Regions from separate parts of the Homo sapiens genome. Here region 2 is linked to region 1. Evidence: promoter capture Hi-C in human tissues and cell types (Jung and others, 2019). All regions are on one chromosome and are shown on one strand. Each heading gives the region's core, a stretch centred on a gene start or on the middle of the fragment in contact. The rest is flanking DNA. Distances are from core to core; before and after follow the strand shown.

What was found. Contacts are between HindIII fragments. The study calls those that stand out against the background at their distance.
Region 2: a contact is called between the fragment with the promoter of ZNF814 here and a fragment that was not itself captured in region 1, in 3 of the 25 tissues and cell types used here (aorta, dorsolateral prefrontal cortex and small bowel).

What each region holds. Positions count from the first base shown.
Region 1 is chr19:57,368,493-57,372,402 of GRCh38, forward strand. ZNF547 (zinc finger protein 547) reads left to right here. Exons shown (of 4, transcript NM_173631.4): 2 at 52-87; 3 at 3,290-3,416. The coding sequence starts at 64. Among named protein-coding and RNA genes, the nearest start is that of ZNF547, 6.9 kb to the left of the region's middle. The HindIII fragment of the contact is 8,803 bases long and covers 1-3,910 here.
Region 2 is chr19:57,887,391-57,891,300 of GRCh38, forward strand. ZNF814 (zinc finger protein 814) reads right to left here and starts at 1,647. Exons shown (of 3, transcript NM_001144989.2): 1 at 1,377-1,647. The coding sequence starts at 1,412. RefSeq lists enhancers at 1-523, 548-1,091, 1,092-1,634, 1,308-1,357. The HindIII fragment of the contact is 24,676 bases long and covers 1-3,910 here.

The DNA of each region.
Region 1 (3,910 bases), core at 1-2,500:
GTAAGATCTTCCCATCGTTGCCCATTTCTCACGGTTTCCCTCTTCCTTCAGGGTCCCCTGGCGATGGCAGAAATGAACCCTGCACAGGTGAGTGGAGTGTTTTCTACCTTTCACCTACCAGTTATCTCATAGATGGTTTTGGCACCTCCATGTAAAGAAAAGTGGTGTCCAGAGACTCTCTTTCTGTCTTTCTCCCTCTCTTATGTCTGAAAAGTGAGTGATTCCACCAGTTCTAGTATCTTAAATTAGGTCTGGGATTTTTGTTTGATTGTTTTAAGTTTACTGTGACACCTTACCTGGATGGCCCTGGATTATGTGGAGTGGCTCCCATTTTTGACAGTTGACGTGGTAACATCTGTCAGAGTGTCATGGGCACAAGATTAAGAATGTTTCAGTGTTTAGAGGAGAGACTGAACTGGATTTTTAGGGAACTGCAAGTGTCTGTTATATCGGATAGGAATAGGGAGCAGAGTGGGAGGTGGCTAGAGACACACAAACATCAGGCCTGGAATGACAGCCTAGGTCCTGGGTCTCTAATCTAAGGGAGGTGGTAGATGGGGAAGATTTGAAGCAGAAGAGGGCAGTGATAGGACCCTAGCTTAAGGAACTTTCTTTGGCGTCTGAGTGGAGGACAGACTGTGGAGGTGAGGGTAATGGCAGGGAGATCTGAGAGGATGTTCCTGCAGCAGTCTAGGTGGATGTTGGTGGTGACTTGTCAAGAGTAGCGGTGGCTTCAGGATGTGTTTTGAACTGGAGCTGCCCACATTTTATGATGTAGAGAGTGAGGCAGCTGGGGGGGTGGGATAGAAGGGGAATCAGGAGTGGCCCCATGGTTTTTGTTTGGAAGCATAGATGCTCCATCAGCTAAGATGGGAGAAGTCAGCAGTATTAGGAATTTTCAGAGTGAGTGTGAGGAGTCAGTGTTTGTTCAAGCCACAGATGTCTCAGAGACTCCTGGTGGAGGAGTTCAGGTTGGAGACGTCCACACTATGGTGGCTGTCGTATGGACCAGGATGAAGCCATGGATTCAGTTTAGGTGACAGCATCTCTAGGTTATGGTGGCAGTGCTGTTCGAAGACAGAGAATTGGAATGGGGCATGAGAACTGGGTCTCTTACTGGGTAGCTGTGCAGTGGTGGAGGAGTCACTAGACAAATGAGGGAATGGAGTGTTTGTGGGGATGAGTGTATGTGAGATGGTGGGGTATAGGAGTGAGAAAGACTTCTGAAGGAGAGTGGACATGATGGGGTTGCTGAGGAGGGTAATAGGGTGAGGTCGGAGAGTTGCTAAGCATCAGTTGGAATGAGATGAGGATGGGAATTCTATTAGTCTGTTTTCATATTGCTACAAAGAACTACCTGAGACTGGGTACTTTATGAAGAAAAGAAGTTTAATTGACTCACAGTTCTTTTTTTTTTTTTTTTTTTTTTTTGAGATGTGGCCCAGGCTGGAGTGCAGTGGCACAATCTCGGCTCACTGCAATCTCTCCCTGCCAGGTTCAAGCGATTCTTCTGCCTCAGCCTCCTGAATAGCTGGGACGACAGACTCACCCCACTACGCCCAGCTAATTTTTGTATTTTTAGTAGAGATGGGCTTTCACCATGTTGGCCAGGATGGTCTTGATCTCCTGACCTCGTGATCCATCCTCCTCAGCCTCCCAAAGTGTTGGGATTACAGGCGTGAGCCACCGCACCCAGCCCATAGTTCTTCAGGCTTAACAGGAAGCATAACTCGGAGGCCTCAGGAAACTTACAATCCTGTGTCCATGAGGCAGGACACAGCTGAGAGTATGTGAAGTCCTCACATGGTTTGGGCACCTGACAGTGAAGTGAGAAACAGGGCCATGTAGGGAACCTTCAACCCAGGGCTTAGGGCTGCCCCCGGTGCTAGGGAACTTTGGTGTTCTGGGGCAGGACTGGGAGTGAATTGGATGCTGAGCGTATTTGCCGTGCACCACCTGGTTTCTGTGTGCAGAGTGGCCTGTTAGGAGGTGAAGGAAATGCCTGTGGTGTGGGCTGGGAGGTGTCTGTGGAATTGACTGGAGTGGAGGTGTGAGAGATGGGATTGGAGTGCTGTCCAAAGAGTGATGTGCAGGCAGGAGGAGTGTGAATGGAGGGCCTCAGGCCCTGGCCCTGGTAGCTCAAGGGAGGAGGATGAGTCTGAGTTTGGTTGTCTTGGGAGGCAAGATCTGGGTGACTCCATGGAAACTGGCTGGCAGGAGAGGATGGATCCCCCCACGGGAGGCCCACATTCCTTTTCTACCTTATCTTCCATCTGTTTCCTCTGTGTGCTGGACACGGTGGCCAATGTCAATATGGAGAGAAAAGTCACTCATGCCACCTGGATGTGGTTTCTCTTCCACATTGGGAGGGTGTAGAGATTGAGGAAGGAAAGGAGGTGTAGGGGAGAGGGATGAGTTCCTGGAGAGAGAAAAGTAGCAGTGATTGTACCCATTGGGGTTTTTTGTTTTTTTTTTTTTAGATGGAGTCTTGCTGTGTTGTCACCCAGGCTGGAGTGCAGTGGCATGATCTTGGCTCACTGCAACCTGCACCTCCTGGATTCAAGCAGTTCTGCCTCAATCTCCCAAGTAGCTAGGACTACAGGCATGTGCCGCCATGCCCACCTAATTTTTGTATTTTTAGTAGAGATGGGATTTCACTGTGTTGGCCAGGCTGGTCTTGAACTCCTGACCTCAGGTGATCTGCCCGCCTCAGCCTCCCAAAGTGCTGGGATTATAGGCATGAGCCACTGTGCCTGGCCCCCATGGAGTTTTAATTTATGGATGTGAGTGAGTGATGCCAGGGACAGGCCAATGACACTGAAAGAAGATATTTATTCCTTACGTTTCCCTAAGGAGGTTACATACCACATAACACAGGGCCACACGGTGAAACACCAGATTTGATCAGGAGGAAAATTGGAGTGAGTTTAGTTTAGTCCACAGATGCTGTTGGGGTTTCCAAGGGAAACAAGGCAGGGCTGGCTGTCAGGATAGTTTGGCTAGTTTTAGTAATTCCAGGACACCTGGGCTATTGGGACTGTCCCTAGTTGTGCAGTACCTGTCCCTGGGTTGATTTAGAGCATGGGAAATACTGACTTGGTTTGAGAAAGTTAGAGATGGAGATGGTTAAGAATATGTGCCCAGGATGGTAGGGGAGATGGAAACACATTTAGCTGTTAGTTTGTCCCTGTGTTTAATGGGTGGTAAATATAAGTAGAAAATAAATAGAGAACTTAAGTAAATACAGTTTGAAAAGCTGCTCATGTATTCATCTTTCCCAATTTGGCAGGGTCATGTGGTTTTTGAAGACGTGGCCATATATTTCTCCCAGGAGGAGTGGGGGCATCTCGATGAGGCTCAGAGATTGCTGTACCGTGATGTGATGCTGGAGAATTTGGCCCTTTTGTCCTCACTAGGTAAGGCCCTCACACTTGCCCAGTGTCCTGGGTTGGGCTGTGTTGTCTCCTTTTACCTGAAGGCAGCTCTGCGTTTCCCACAGTGAGACCATGGGTGCTGCTTCTTTTCCTTGTTTCCTGACATATGTTCCATGAGAGTCAGGACTGCAATATGTGCTGTGTGCTTCCTTTTTCCTGGCAGCCCCATCCTCTGCTGTTCTGAGGCTTGCAAGAAAGGGCTCAGGATCCAGAAATGTTGAAGGTGACATAGAGACCCACTGGCCCTGTGTTCTATTCAAATGCATGAGACCTCTGTGCTCTGTTGTTCCCTTGCTCTTGCCAATATTTCTTGGTCCCTTCTTGTTCCTGGAATTTCTGGCACTGACCTGATCACTAATTTGGTGAACCACTGGCTTGATTGTGTAGGATGTAGAAATCTTCTGTGAAGTTCTGGTGATTATCGAATGTGAGATATCATCAGGTGATCTCTCTGGGAATGTGCTGTCTTGTCTCTT
Region 2 (3,910 bases), core at 397-2,896, 520 kb after region 1:
CCACCAACTGGCCCAGACCAAGATGCCTTTTGTCTTCCTTGCTCCCTCTAAACTGGTTCCATAACGTTTGCTCCTATATCTTTTTCCTCTTGATGCTAAGCATTATTTTGTTCCTTGTGTTGTAATGCCCAACCTTGTTTTCACTAATCCTGTTTTTAGACTCTCCCTTTTGCTCTCTTAATCACCTAGCCTCGTTTCCACATGAATAGACTCTCGCTTAGCTGAGAAAGCCAGACGAGCTCCACCTGGCCCCCTTGATTTACAAGACATTAAGGACTCCTTACCCACCCCCCTTTCCTCAAGGAGTTAACTTGTGTAAGCAGATTCTCAACATATCAAAGGAGTCCAATTAACTGATAAGGGACTGGGAACAAACCATGTATGAAGTTCCCAGGATTTTGCTCAAAAGATAACACCATAAAGCCTTGAGTTTGTGTCTGGCGTAGTGCCCATATCTAACTCTTATGAAGGATTTAGAGCGCCACACCTGGTACCTTGCCTTTTTGTAACCATTTGTCTTTTAAATTGTTTGTTTCTCTGTAACCATTTATCCTTTTAATTTTTTGCATGTTTTTACTTCTGAAGAGTTGTTGCATTTAAGCTCCCCTCCCCTTCCTAAACCAAAGTATAAAAGTTAATCAAGCCCCTTCCTCGGGGCCGAGAGAATTTTGAGCGTTAGCCGTCTCTTTGGCCGCCAGCTGAATAAAGGACTCTTAATTCGTCTCAAAGTGTGGCGTTTTTCTAACTCGCCCGGGTACAACAGTGTTATGTTTAACCTTTAACATTTACATGTTAAGTATACTATTGTGTATTGTTTGCTATATTGACTGACTTGGGGAGTGTCTTCAGCCTCTGTGCCCATGGCCAACTACCAAGTGAACTGGAATCACAAGAGAATTGCCTCCTTCGAACTCCATTTAGCTCATGGCTTTTGTTGACTCAAATATCACCTGACACTGTGCAAAGACACAAACATGCATGGACCTGATTATCTCTACCCTTACAATGCTCATGACATCCCTCCTTTCTTCGAAAATCTCCATGCCTTCTAGGGTCCTCACGTGAGTTCATAGCCCCCAGCCTGCTTGCTCTTCCAGGAGGAGCTCCGCCTCATAATTTGCTCCCAACAGGCACCTGTGGACCCCAGATTCCATCCTTCTGGCTCAGTTCACTTCCAGGCCTTTGCCCGCGCCAGTCCCTGTACCTGCCGGTCTCCCCACCGCATCCCACGGGTGTCAGAAATGGGGCCCCTCCCGCAAGCGCCTCAGTGTCCCAACGCCGGCGTCCGGGCTGCAGAGCCGTGAACAGGCGCTGCTACCTCGCTGCTTTTGGGTGACGATGAGGTGACCTGAGGACACAGAAGGCCCCACAATTACCTGAGCGGAGAGCCTCAGCGTAGCCGCGGCAGCCATCGAACCACGTGGTTTTAAGCAGAGTCGGGAGGATAGGGCGACCAGCCAGGAGATATGGGCACGACGGTCCGTATCCTGGCCCAGGAGTGGGTCACGCTGGGCGCCGTCACAGAGCTCCAGAGTAGCCTCTGTGCAGCGGAGGACAACTGCTCCCCGACTTCTGGGTTCAGTCACCACAGTGCGGACCTAGCGCTCAGGAGCCTCTCCTACAAATAAATCCAACACCAATCAAAATGGCCGCCACCAGAGGGCGCCGGAAGTCCGGACCCATTGTCACGTGCACACAGGAAACGCCTTTATTCTGAGCCCTCAGAGGTCTTCTACGCTATCATTCGAGGCTGAGTTTTCTGGGTAATGTAGTTCCCTAGGCAACAAGGAGGGTAAAGGGCGCAATTCCCAGAGGCGCTTCTGCAGGAAAAGCCCAGCTTCACCTCGGGAGTATCCTTAAGATGTGCGTCCTGACTGGTATGGTGGCTCCCGCCTGTAATTCCACCAGTTTGGGAGGCCAAGTCACAAGGATCATTTGAGGTCAGGAGTTAGAAATTAGCCTGAGCAACAAAGCAAAATCCTGTCTCTACAAAAAATAAAAAATATTAGCGGAGTGTGGTCGGGCGGGCCTGTGGTCCCAGCTGCCCTAAGGTTGGGGTTAGGGTTAGGGAGCCTGAGGAGGGAGAATCGCTTGAGCTCAGGAGTTCGAAGCTGCTGTAAGCCGAGATCGTACCACTGCATTCCAGCCTGGGCAACAGAACGAGACCTCTTATCTAAAAAATAAAAATAAGGGCCAGGTGCGGGCGGCTCACGCCCGTAATCCCAGCACTTTGGGAGGCCGAGGCAGGTGGAACACCTGAGGTCAGGAGTTCAAGACTGGCCTGGCCAACATGGTGAAACCCCGCCTCTACTAAAAATACAAAAATTAACCCACATGGTGACATGCGCCTGTAATCCCAGCTACTGGGGAGGCCGAGGCAGGAGAATCTCTTGTACATGGGAGTCAGAGGTTGCGGTGAGTGAGATCCTGCCACTGCACTCCAGCCTGGGTGACACAGCAAGACTCCATGTTGGAAAAAAAAATAAAAATAAAAATAAAAAAATAAATAAAAGATTGCAGATCTTTCTCCTAGGCAGAGGATCATCCTGCCTCTCCTTAGAACTCACATTGAGATTTCTTGGGGTTATTGGCTGTAACTGATTACCCTAGTGTATGGAAAAATATTATTTCAGAGTTAGTGTAGATGTTCCCAAAGGCTACAGATCCAAATTCACCTATCATTTCAGATGGTCCTTCAGATGCAAAATTCTTCCACTGGAAGCAAAGATTAATGCAAAGATTAATAACCATTATTGTATTGTTAAAATGAACGTGTAAACACCCAGAGGGTTCATTTTTCCTACTGCCCAGATAAAGCCAATTTATCAGGACAGGGAAATTGCAAAAGAAAAAGAGTTTTATTCACACAGAGTTGGATGAACAGCATACTGGAGTCTTACTAGTATTACTCAAATCAGTCTCCCTGAAAATTGCGAGACTGGGGTTTTTTGTTGTTGTTGTTGTTTATTTGTTTGTTTGTTTTCTGAGACAGAATTTTGCTCCTGTTGCCCAGGCTGAAGTGCAATGTCACGATCTCAGCTCACTGCAACCTCCGCCTCCTGAGACTGGGGTTTTTTAAGGATAATTTGGTAGATAGGGGGCCATGAATTGGGGAATGCTGATTGGTTGGGTTGGAGATGAAATCATAGGGAGTCAAAGTTGTTCTCTTGTGCTGAGTGGGTTCTGGGGGAGAGGGAGGCACAAGACCAGATAAGCCAGTTTACCCATCTGAGTGGTGCCATCAGATCCATCAAGTTCAGGGTCTGAAAAATATCTCCAGCACCAATCTTAGCTTTTGCAATGGTGATACCATCCCTAGGAACAACTGGGGATGTTTACAGTCTTGTGGCCCCTGGCTGCATGACTCCTAAATGATAATTTCTAATCTATGGGGCCCTAATAAATCAGTAAGTTAACAGGAATTGGGAAGGAGCCAAGCTGGCAGAACAAGAACCTAACCCCATCTGCAACCTCTTTGTGGGAAGAAACCACAGCTGTCAGAAGTGTTTAACAGAGCAACTCCGTCTTGAATAGGGGTTGGATAAAATGAGGCTGAGCTGCATTCCCAGACAGTGAAGACATTCTAAGTCACAGGATGAGATAGGAGGTCAGCACAAGATACAGGCCATAAAGACGTTGCTGATAAAACAGTTTGCAGTAAAGAAGCCGGCTAAAACCCACCAAAACCAAGATGGCCATGAGAGTGACCTCTGGTCGTCCTCACTGCAACACTCCCATCAGTGCCATGACAGTTTACAAATGCCATGGCAACATCAGGAAGTTATCCTATATGGTCTAAAAAAAGGAGGCATGAATAATCCACCCTTTGTTTAGGATATAATCAAGAAATAGGGGCCAGGCGCGGTGGCTCACGCCTGTAATCCCAGCACTTTGGGAGGCTGAGGTGGGT